Regions from separate parts of the Homo sapiens genome. Here regions 2 and 3 are each linked to region 1. Evidence: promoter capture Hi-C in 16 types of primary human blood cells and fetal thymus (Javierre and others, 2016). All regions are on one chromosome and are shown on one strand. The core of a region is centred on a gene start or on the middle of the fragment in contact, and the rest is flanking DNA. Distances in the headings are between cores, read along the strand shown. Region 1 overlaps SLC39A9 (solute carrier family 39 member 9). Region 2 holds the start of EXD2 (exonuclease 3'-5' domain containing 2). Region 3 holds the start of DCAF5 (DDB1 and CUL4 associated factor 5).

What was found. Contacts are between HindIII fragments. The CHiCAGO score rates a contact against its expected background, and 5 or more counts as called.
Region 2: a contact is called between the fragment with the promoter of EXD2 here and a fragment that was not itself captured in region 1, in 4 of 17 cell types (endothelial precursors, megakaryocytes, erythroblasts and 1 more). The highest score is 6.6, in endothelial precursors.
Region 3: a contact is called between the fragment with the promoter of DCAF5 here and a fragment that was not itself captured in region 1, in 1 of 17 cell types (megakaryocytes). The highest score is 6.8, in megakaryocytes.

What each region holds. Positions count from the first base shown.
Region 1 is chr14:69,457,607-69,461,507 of GRCh38, reverse strand. It overlaps SLC39A9 (solute carrier family 39 member 9), which reads right to left. Exons shown (of 7, transcript NM_018375.5): 7 at 1-3,145. The coding sequence ends at 2,915. Among named protein-coding and RNA genes, the nearest start is that of PLEKHD1, 25 kb to the left of the region's middle. RefSeq lists a silencer at 1,171-1,220. The HindIII fragment of the contact is 585 bases long and covers 1,217-1,801 here.
Region 2 is chr14:69,189,861-69,193,873 of GRCh38, reverse strand. EXD2 (exonuclease 3'-5' domain containing 2) reads right to left here and starts at 2,376. Exons shown (of 10, transcript NM_001193360.2): 1 at 2,283-2,376. All of the region lies in intron 3 of GALNT16-AS1 (GALNT16 and EXD2 antisense RNA 1), which reads left to right. RefSeq lists a silencer at 1,966-2,155. The HindIII fragment of the contact is 2,229 bases long and covers 1,652-3,880 here.
Region 3 is chr14:69,151,515-69,155,236 of GRCh38, reverse strand. DCAF5 (DDB1 and CUL4 associated factor 5) reads left to right here and starts at 2,118. Exons shown (of 9, transcript NM_003861.3): 1 at 2,118-2,472. The coding sequence starts at 2,259. RefSeq lists silencers at 1,674-2,313, 3,134-3,183, 3,344-3,722. The HindIII fragment of the contact is 17,790 bases long and covers 1-3,722 here.

The DNA of each region.
Region 1 (3,901 bases), core at 260-2,759:
AGCGGGGAGAAAGAGAAAACACATAACCTCTAGGTAGGTAGTACTGTTTCCAACTGTCTACGTTCCAGTGCAGAATCTTTGCTAAAAAAAAATTTGGCAATAGTGTGCACAGGAAAACTGAATCAAACCTGGAACATCACTGCTTTCTTGAAATGGAACTGACAAGCAATTAACTGGAGAATAAGTGAGGGGAATGGAGCAGTAGTATTCTTTAACTTAATTTGCCATTTAAGAGAGCACTTGGAATCTGAAGAAAGTCTATCCCTACCAAGGAAACGGAGTCAAATTGCAATTAAGATTAACTTTGGTTATATGGAAGCAAGAATCATGCTTCTCATCATCAATTGCGTCTCTTTGGTAGCCAATAATTCCATCTGTAATCATGGCAGCAACTTAAGTATTGCCAATGTTTTCAAATGTGTTACAGCATTAAGGCATCCACATCTAAAGAGGCAGTTTTAAACAAGAGGAAAACGGAACTGAAATGTGCCAAGAAGTGAACACGGACATGGCCTCTCCTGGAATACTGCCCACCATGCCAGCAAGCTCTTCCTCCAGTCAAGAAGGCCTGTGCCACGCTGCTTGGTTCCCTGCTGCCTGAAGATGCATTTGAGCCCTATGAGATTAGTATGGCTATTTCTGTCTGCTGACCAGGAGAGAAATGAGTAGTTCTCGAGGCAGCAGCTTTAAAATCTGGGAAAGCCCATACATAGCTTCTGAGAGCTAAGAGGGCCCTGAAAGGTTTGCTTGTTAATAGTGAGGTCCAGAGGGGAAGGCAAATTTGGAAGTCAGATGGTTCAATCCTTGCCGGAGTTCAAGGCTCCATCCAGCAAGATATACTAGCCAAACTTTTAAGCATGATGGCAAGGCACTGCTGAAAGAGGCTTTGGCCAGTAGAACAAATTACCATTGCACACAACAATATGATAGAAAGCACTACTGTCCAAACCAAACCAGACACTACAATCTGCTATTTATTTGACAAAGTCAGTTTCCAGAGAGAATCTAGGCAACCATATAGTTTTGAAGGACTAGATGAAACCTCAAGTCTCACACCAGTCAGCTGTTAACATCCAATCAAGGAAGTCATTTGGACTTTCCATACTATACCTTCTCTTGGTAGTAAAATTGTATGCAATTGTTGCCAATGACTACATACAACTGTATCCTATTTGTGCTACTTTCCTCACTGTGGCCAGCAGAGGGCTCACAAGCTTTATTTCCACAGCTGCTGATCCAGTGACAAATTCATGAAGGAAATAAATCATAGGCATGCTAGCTTATGCGTCATAGAAAACGTTTTTACAAACTACTACGTCCACTGCCCTGAAGAAACTAGTCTTGGTTCCCCCTTAGTGTAATGTGTTTTGAAATGGTATAGAAAGTAAAAATAAATTAATAATACAATATTATACACTTATTTGACAAGACAGGGTTTACAAAAATTTTGGCAAATATGAAAAAAAAATTATCCTAGTCTGTTAAACACTTTTGCTATCTCAATTGTTTAAATTACCAGATTAGTGATTGTGTCAATTTACACATGAGGAGGTGGTATTTTAAGGGCTCAACAAAGCGGCATTTGACACAAAGGTAATTTCTTTGAAGGGGGATAAAGAATAAAGATATTATTATCTTCATTATTACAGTTCGAGAAGTGGTTGTCCTGATAAGAATTCATCCCACACAAATATTAACACCAGCAGTAAGCAGCAAATTGTGGCGAGGAGAGGCTAGAGGGAAAAGTTAGAAGAAAAGCAAAGAAAAGACGAAGAGACAAGAGACATGATTCCAATAAGCTTTAAATCAATAGGCAAACACTTCTCATTTATGATCCATCTTGCTACAGGTGGTTATGTGAGAAGACACAGTGTCGCCAAAGCTGACCTAGTATTTAGGTCCCTAGAGGGATTGCTGATCTGCTAAGAGAAATAATTAAAAAAAAAAAAAACAAAAAAAAAGGACAACCATACATTTTGGTAGTCTTTTAAAAAAAGCTACTACAAAGATATCAATAACCATCCAAAAATCACTTAAAATTTAATATCCCTTAATTTCCAAAGACACTTTGTGATCTGACTGTTCTTGAAGGAAAGCCTAGAACTGAAACTACTAGAACTTGGCTCCTCTCTAGGAATGTGGAGACAGGTATTCTGCAAAGGAGAACTTGACAAGGAATGCTACAAAATACCAGTCACCTCTTTAGAAGCTCCTCCCACCTCTCCTGCTCCATTTGATGGAATGGCAGGCTGGATTCAGAGAGGCACGTGCCAAAGGAGCTGTTTAAATCCCTCTAGACATCCCTTTTCAATGGATATCTCTTTTGAGTATAAAGAGAGCTTTCAATGTGTCTTGCTATCATTTTCCTGACCCTAATCCCAGATTAACTAGAATCACCTTTAGCATCTAAGTGAGTGGGTGCTATGACCTTCCATCAACGCATGTGGCATAGATGCTAAAGCACCAGTCTTACATGGTGGGAACCATGTTAAAAATCAATGGATAAAGTAGCAGAGCCTCTAAACTAAGAAGAAAGAGACATAGCTTAATTACAGAACACTGTATTTTCATAATCACTATTTCATTGTGAGTATGAAGTTCTCCTCTTTTCCTTAAAACTAAATTCCATCTTCCCTGAGAATAGGGTTAAGAGAAATATTAAAACGCAAAATGTCAAGGGCCTTTTAAAAGATAACACAATGGGATGTCTATAGCTAACTGCAACGTAAATGTGTTTCTACTCTAAAAGCTTTTCCATTACTCAGGTTTTAACCTCACCTCCCCTCTGGACTCTAGGAATACATGTAGAGATGCGCAAGGTGAGACAAGAGACTGAGGAAGTGAGTAGCTGTCACGTGCCGGCTGTTCTCACTGGATGGCAAACGGCCCTGGACCAAGGCTGGACCTTGAACATTTAATGCTGGTGTCCTACTGACAGGATGAGAGGGATGAGGCAACCCAGAACCAGGGCTGCCACTTCCAGGCGGCTGAGGCCTCTCCCTCCCGTGGCATCGGGCTTGTGGCTGTGCCCTATTCCGCCCACCTCAGGGAGGACATGTACTGTGGCAACATAAAGAAATGTCCCGGCAGAGAAAAGCATGGCCACTCCCGTGGCGTTCACCTCTGAAAGGGCTTCTTTACTGCTCTGTGAATTAGAAGAGAGAAAGAGGAAAAACTAAGTCAAGTAAAATTCAGGGTCAGGAAGAAGTCCCAGTTAAAAAACACTCACTGTTCTTAACTGGTGCTGTCTAGGACACTGGGGACATCTAGAGAACACAGCAACTTTAAGTTATTCATGGGAAGCTTCCAAATAAGGGTTTAAGAATATCAGTGATGTACGCAATTGATTTTTTAAAAAATTTATTGTAAATCAACAATTTATAATTATATATATTTATAGGGTATAAAGTGACATTATGATTCATGAATAAAATGTGGACTAATTAAATAAAACTAACATCTGTCATCTCAAATATTTATCATATTTTGTGGTGAGAACATCTGAAATTTACTCTTAGCAATTTTGATATGTACCACACACTATTATTAAACTATATTCACCACAGTTCCATCATTCTGTCCATCCATTCATTGACTGTATCTGTCTTTAGAGATGAGGTCTCGCTATGTTGCCCAGGCTGGAGTTGAGTGGCTATTCACAGGCACAATCATAACACACTACAGCCTGGAACTCCTGGGCTCAAGCAATCCTCCTGTCTCAGCTTCCCAAGTAGCTGGGACTACAGGTATGCGCCACTGCTCCTGGTTCACAATTGCTTTTTAAAACGAACTTTAAGTGCTGGTTCAACAGGTTTGGCTTGTATTATTCTTGAGATAGAATCAACAATATATTATTGCAGATATTAAATTTCAGACATAAATTTATTTATTCTACTAATAT
Region 2 (4,013 bases), core at 1,127-3,626, 270 kb after region 1:
AGATAACCAATAGCAGCACCATCCTAGTGGAACAAACAAAAAATGTTTACAGACATTGCCAAATAACCCCGAGAGCAAAAATCTCTGCCATTTAAGAACCACTCGGATTGGGAATGATAGCCACAAAATACAAACACACACATAACAGACTGATAAATTAAAACCTAAAATTTTAAACTTTGTTTCAACAAAGATGCCATATAGTTAAAAGACAAGCAACAACTTAAAAAAGCAATAAGCAGGGAGTAAATATTATAAACACATATGAATAACAAAAGATCAAAATCCAGAACATATAAAATACTATTATAAATCAATAAGGAAAAGACAATCCAATAGAAAGAGATGTTTCTCAAAAGAGGAAATACAAATGGCTGACAATCATGAAGATGTTCAATCTCAATAGTAATCAGGGGAATGCAAATTAAAACAGCAAAGAGAAATCACTTTTCCATCCATCAGATTGGCAAAAACAAAAAAGATCGATACCATTAAATGATCAAAAGAGCATGGTGGGCCAGACACGGTGGCTCACGCCTGTAATCCCATCACTTCGGGAGGCCAAGGCAGGCGGATCACTCGAGTTTAGGAGTTTGAGACCAGCCTGGCAAATACGGTGAAACCCCGTCTCTACTAAAAATACAAAAATTAGCCAGGCGTGGTAGCGGGTGCCTGTAATACCAGCTACTCGGGAGGCTGAGGCAGGAGAATCGCTTGAACCTGGGAGGCAGAGGCTGCAGTGAGCTGAGATCACGCCACTGCACTCCAACCTGGGCAACAGAGCAAGACTCTGTCTCAAAAAAAAAAAAAAAAGAGAGAGAGAATGGAGGAAATTATTATCCACCGTGGGTGGCAGTTTGGCATTCCTAAATCCCCATACTCTCCCACCCAGCAATTCCACCTGCAGGTACCCATCCTTGAGAAATGCTCTCACATGGGCTCTCACAGAGGTGTGTGGGAAGGATGTTCTCCGCCATACTGTGTCTAACAATGAAAAACTGGAAACAATCTATGGAATCTTACATAACCATGGAATTTACAGAGCAAGTAGAAAGAATAGGTAGATCTCTAGGTACTGACAAAGAAAAAATTCCAAGACCCGTTTTTAAGCATAAAACGTCAAGTTGTGTAATGCATAAAACATGCATATTTGTAAAAGTTTAAAGCGAAATCTTACAAACATATATCTTATACGTACACATACTTGTCAAATAAATGCAAAGAAAAATACACACAAACTGACAACAGTTCTTATTTTGTGGGAAAGGGACTGGTAAAGAAGGTGGAGATGGAAAAAAACAAAATCAAAGAGGATCTGTCTTCCACACTCCCCACCCTCACCACCAAGAACATCAAGCTAAGAAAGATCTGTGTTTAAAATTTTTACATAATTTTGTTACAAGGCTTTATGCACGGACTATAACTAGAATATTTTAAAAATACATTTTTAAAACAAGCTCAACTTGACCAAATTTAATCCATCTTCCCCGCTGCGCCCCAACCCGCACTTCCTAATTCCTATGATTAACAAAACCTTTCAATTCCTTCTATCCTTGGAACAGAACTAAGAAAATAAAGTATAATTTCAATTTTGTGTTTTTGAGGAGAGGGTATATAAAGGAGTTTGAATGTTGGAATCATATCAAAAGCTTATCGGGGGATTGGTTTGTTTGTATTTTAAGGAGCAGATGTCAATTTTGTAATAAATAATGATTAAGGTTCTTAGTTTTGATCCATCCCAGGGATGTGAAAAGCCAAAGAGGTGGCTCCCGGCAAGGCCCAGAGCAGGGTGTGGTCTGGGAGGACAGGGATGGTAGCGAGGGTGGCGGCTCACACGAATCCAGGAGAGAAAACAGCAGCTGTTGCCGCGTCGAACCCGCAGCGCCCGAGGAGCTACCAGGTGCCGCGGGCGGGGCCTCCTTTTTAGCTGACTGGGACACGCAGCCTCGAAGGTCTGGTAGAGTCTCCCAGGGAGAGGGTAAGGGGGTCGAAAGGAGAGGCCCAAGGAGGGCGTGGGAGGCCGCGGGCAGGGGTGAGGCCCTCCTTGCGCACCTGGGTGCTGAACCGCCCCGCCGTGTGCGACGGGGGCGAGGGGGTCACGCCGAGGGGCGGGGAGAGGGGCAGGGCCAACTCGCTCCGGGACAGCGGGGGCCCCGCAATGTCACCCCCGTACACGGTAATATCCCCCCGCTCCACGACCCCTCTTAGTCTGCACTGGAAGCACCCCCTGCCCCGCGCACAATCCTGGTGCAAGGCTTCGCCGGCTTCTGAGCCTCACTTACCTGCTGTCTCGGACTGGGCCGCACACCTGCAGCGGGCTCACGTTAAAGACCTGGAACCTGTGCGGCCGCCTGCGCGCACCCACCCGGATTCACTAGGGCCGTAACCACTTCCGTTCCTGCGACAGGCCTGGAGGACGTAATCCCAGCTGGCGTGTGGGAACGGGCAACGCCATTTTGTACGGAAGCTACTGGGGCAGGTGATGCCTACCCAGTCTCTCTCCTCTGTTGAACAAAGGATCTGTTAAAATTGGAAGGGCTTAACGTCTTCTTCAGAAAAGTGACGCATTTGTTACTGGGATGGTATGTTTGTGTTTTGGTTTTGGCTTTGAAGGGAGAAACCTCCAGAACTCTCACAAATGTAATATGGGACATCGAATTTTCCTTCTTTAGTATCCTGCGTACTGTTTTTCTGCTAAACGATAACAGTAAATAGAAGGAAAGACACTGTATTTAAATAATGTAGTCTTCATTAGCAGTGCACATTATCCTATAGCCACTATAATAATTTTATGTACCCTCCTTTTTTTTTTTTTTTTTTTTTTTTGTAGATACTGTCTCCCTACATTGCCTAGGCTGGTCTCGAACTCCTGGGCTCAAGCGAACCTCACAACTCGGCCTCCCAAAGTGCTGGGATTACAGGCGTGAATGCCCAACCTATGCCATCTTTTATAGCGATAACCACAATACTTTTTGTTTATATATTAAATCGTTCATCCAATCAGTCTTTATTAGCAATTATATGTGAGGCAGTTAATCTGTGCTACATGCATGCTTTTCCTTTCTCATGGAATGTGTAAAACAGAAGGAGAAATGAGATGTGCATAAATAACCAATATAAGGTATAATAATAGCTACCATTTGTTGACTTTGTGCTCACCTGTTGCTAGGAACTTTGCAAAGCATTTTACTTATTTTTTCTCCTTTAATCCCCATAACAACCCTGTGAGGCAGTACTATTATTAGTGCCGTTTTACATAAAATAGAAAAAGGTTAAATAACTTCCTCAAGGTAATTCAGCAAGTAAGCACCGGAGTTAGGAATCAAACCTCATATTTCTGATTGCAGAGCATGTGGCCCCATCCTTTATACTATATTGCCTTCAATACAGGGGCAAATGTTTTAAATTCCATTGAATGAGTACCCATGGGGGAAATTTCCAGCTATTATAGAGGATTAACTCCCTGAATTTTTATCTGCTCCATCTTGAAACACTTAAAAAACAAAGGATAAAGAGGAAATGCAAATTAAAACCACAATGAGATATAGCTAAATGAAAAAGAAAATGTCAAGTATTGGCAAGATTGTGGAGCAACCACAACTCTCATATGCTCCTGAAGGGAACATAAATTGATGCAATCACTTTGTTTAACTGTTTGGCGGTATCAACTGAATCTGAATATGTGAAAAGACTTTGTTCCAACAATTTCACCCCTAGCTGGGGCACAGTGGCTCAACGTGTCATCCCAGCACTTTAGGGATTTTCACTGTGTTGCCCAGGCTGGTCTTGAACTCCTGGCCTCAAGCGATCCTCCCACCTCGGCCTCCCAAAGTGCTGGGCATCATGGTGTGCACCTGTAGTCCCAGCTACTCCAGAAGCTTAGGCAGGAGGACGTCTTGATCCCTGGAGTTTGAGGCTGCAGTGAGTTGTGATCACACCACTGCAGTCCAGCATAGGTGACAGAGCTAGACCCTGTCTCGAAAACAAAAACAACAAAAAACAATTTTACTCCT
Region 3 (3,722 bases), core at 869-3,368, 310 kb after region 1:
TAAAGGCCACTTCGAACAAATCTCCCCCACCCCAGGCAAATAGGTATAAATGATGGCCTATTAACTGGAAGAAGTTAGAGGGGGTTTTGAATGTGTGGACTGAGTATGCCAAGCAAAGGAACAGTGAGCAGGGAAACTGGCCTTGGAACAAGTGGATTCCACTGGAATGAAACAGGTCAAACTCAACATATCCAAACCGGAAAGCACGACCTTTCCCTTCAAACTCCTCCCCACTCCCTAAGTACATTCATGAATTCAGCAAGTATTAAAGCGGCCACTAGTGCCAGCAAGTACTGGCTCCAGGCATACACCCTTGAGCAGAACAGACGTAGTCCCTGCTCTCAGAGAACTTACAGCAGAGTGGGGAGACTCATATCATCACAAAAATAAATGATTAATTACACATTTTGACATTGCAATGACAGAAGGATGTTTGGTGCTATACATCTTTAATAAAGCTGGTATACTGCTACTAATTTTTAGGTGGTGATTATAATGAATAAACACAAAGGATTATTAGAAGGCATCCTGAGGATAAAACCTTTTAAGTACCACATAGTTTCCTATTTAGGGGAACAATATTCCATTAAAATTCACATTTTTGGAATTTGATTTCTTTCTTTTAAAAATTTATTTATTTTTTGCCCTTTTCCCCAAGTTCTGATGGAATTTGGTTTCTGTTTAGTAATGTTTGCTAGAATATGTACTTTTATATGAAACATTTGCATATTTGTTATTAGTACGATTAATCGTATTGTCACTGAACAAAAAGTAGAAGTAAATAATTTTGTTTGACGGGTAAACCTCTTCCATGTTCAGCCGATCTTTTTTTTTAAAAAAAATTATTATTATTTTCCCCAGATCAGAGATGTACAGCCCATCTTTCAATGATGATTCTACTCAACTGCTCCTGTGCCATCTCTGGTCCAGAGGATGTAATTCCTGCTAACTTGAAAGGGCAAAACTGACAAGTGCCTATTTCAGTAGCTTATTACCACTTAATGACAGAGGATAGCTTCCAGGAAAAGTACTATAATACATCGAAAAGGGGACTTTTAACTGTATCTGGTAGAATTCCAAAGCATTTAACACCCACTAGGGTCAACGCGGTGACTCCCATCCTACTGAAGTGCAGCCACTTCTGGCCTGGAGCGCAGCTGCTGGTTAACAGCTGTCCAACCTCAGTGCTCCCCACTCGAGACCTTTAAGAGGAGCTCACCGAACCCAATTAAATAACATATATCGTTAGTTTCAAATCACGCTTCTTGTGTCGTGCAAATTTATCTGGAACGGAGAGAAGTACCTCGTGCTTCTCGGGACTTCATCAACTCGGTTTTGGCAATTTTCTTCCTACTTCTTTATCCCTTTCTCTTTCCCCCCATGTACCACTCTAATCTGCCAGACGGAACAATTTAGCCTTTTTCAACTAAAGGACCGGAGGAAGGAAGAGTTAGAGAACTGGACTTGGGGATGAGCGGTGGTGTTAAACATTTACCGGGAGAGGGGAAGGGGCGGGTGCGCGAACAAAACCCCCAGGCAACGTTCCTCCAAGTGTGCGGCCCTACCTCCCGGTTCCCCCGCCTCGGGCAGGGCCGGACTGCCCAAGGCAGAGGCCAGCAGAGGAAGGAGGGCCGGAGCCCCCGCCCGCACCTTCCCCCACTCCAGCCGCATTTTCCCCGAACTCGTACGGGCGCTGGCCTCCGGGCAGCAGCCGGCCCGCGGGTCCCCGCGGGAGGAAGGCGAGCCAAAGCCCGGCGGCCACTCGGATTGTTACGCGCATTCAACTCCGCGGAGTGCGGGGCGCTGGGGTGCAGAGGGGTCTCCGCCCGGCGCCACCCAGGTCCCCAGGCGGGAAGCGGCTCAACTGGGAAAGCAGCCGGCGCCCGTGGTCTCCGGGCCGGCCGCCCGCGTTCTTCCGGCCAGCCCCCCGCGGAGGGGAGGGGCGCCGACGCCGCGTTCTCGGGGCCCCGCAGCCGGCGGAAGGGCCGCGCATCGCGGAAGCGCGGCGGCAGCTGAGGATCAGCTGCTGGAGGAGGCGGAGAGGCAGAGGGAGGAGCCTCGGGGGGAAGGAGAGGGAGGGGACCGTCAGGAAGCCGCGAACGCCGCCGAGTGTCTGCACACCTCGCTCTGCCTGCCATGGCTGGTTAAAGAACCATCCGGATCGCAGCGCGGGGGGAGGGCCGGGTGGGGGGAGCAGCGGCCGCGCGTGAGGCCGAGGGAGGGGCGGCGGCGCGAGCGGCGGCGGCGGCGGTTCCAGCATGAAGAGGAGAGCTGGCCTGGGGGGCAGCATGAGGTCAGTGGTGGGCTTCTTGTCCCAGCGGGGCTTGCATGGGGACCCCCTGCTCACTCAGGACTTTCAGAGGAGACGCCTGCGGGGCTGCAGAAACCTCTACAAGAAGGACCTCCTCGGCCACTTCGGCTGTGTCAATGCCATTGAATTCTCCAACAATGGAGGCCAGTGGCTGGTCTCAGGTAAATCAACCCCCTTCCCCTCCCCGCGCCTCCCCGCACCCTCCCAGCCTCCCCCTCTCGCTCTCCCCCGTCACCCTCCTCCTGCCCTCTGTCCCCACCCCCTCCCTTTCTCTACCCCCTTCTGCGGTGGGAAGGTTTGGTGTCAAATTAAAACCATTGCAGGGGGAGGGGAAGGAGAGGATGTCTTCTATAAAAAAGACCTAAAATGGTTGACAGCTCCTTAATTCGCTTTATCCCAAGTGCAAAGTGATCTCTCCTGATGCCTGCCCTGAAAGTGTAGGTCGGGGAGGGGGGCGAGGTTACCGCTCTACAAAGTTTGACGGCAAACTCTTCCTCCGCGTACTTTAAAAGGTGCTGGGGGCATTTTGGGGATGTGGAGGGTGAGGAGGCCGAGGAGCGCCGGAGGCAAGGGGGAGCTGAAGCCCCCGTCGCCGGCGTTAAGGAAAAGGGGTCTTGGGGCTGGGAAGCGGGCGGTGACAGACCCGGACGCCGAGGGGCCGGGGGCTGCGACCCGGGGGCTGGCGGGGTCTGCAGAGGGGAAGTGACTGGGGCGGTAGGGTCGCTGTGGGCCGCCCCCCTCGGCGCTCTTAGAGGCCCAGCACCATCGCCTTTCGTTCGGTTGTGGCCTCTTCTGCGTCTTGTTTTTAATACAGTTTCGAGAGTGGCGAGGGCTGTGGAGGCTAAAGGGCACCAGCCTGAACTTGAATGCGCAACTTGCGAGGCAGGCGGTAGGGTGGGGGACCCCCGGGAGACTTGTTGGCGGGAGCCCGGCGCCCCGCACCCCGTTTCCCGCGGCCGCTGTTGCAAGTGGTCTCTGCTTCTCCTCCCTCTCGCCCAGACGGGCCTGGTTGCCCCCGGGCTCTCCCTCTGGTTTGGGGAAAGTGGCGAAATCGAGGCCGGGGCTCCGGCCGGGCGGTGTAGGCCTCGCTCTCCCGGGGCTCCTAGCGACAGGCAGCTGAATCGATAGCCTATTGCTCCCGGGGAGGCCCGGGCCCCGCGGGCCGCGGCGACAGCTGCCCCTGGGGAGGTGCGCCTGCTGCCGGTGGGGGCGCTCGCCGCCGTCGTCCCCTCCTCCCTGGGGTCGCGGGCCCAGGGCAGGGGCGGGTGGGAATGGGCCTACGTGAGGGCTAGGGGGCGGCTCCCCGAAACCTGGCTCAGGGGAGGGGGGGTGAAGACGGCTGATTGGGCGTTCCTGCTTGGCTGCTGCCCTCTTCTGTCCCTTTTCCTATATTGGGAGGGATGAAGGGGGA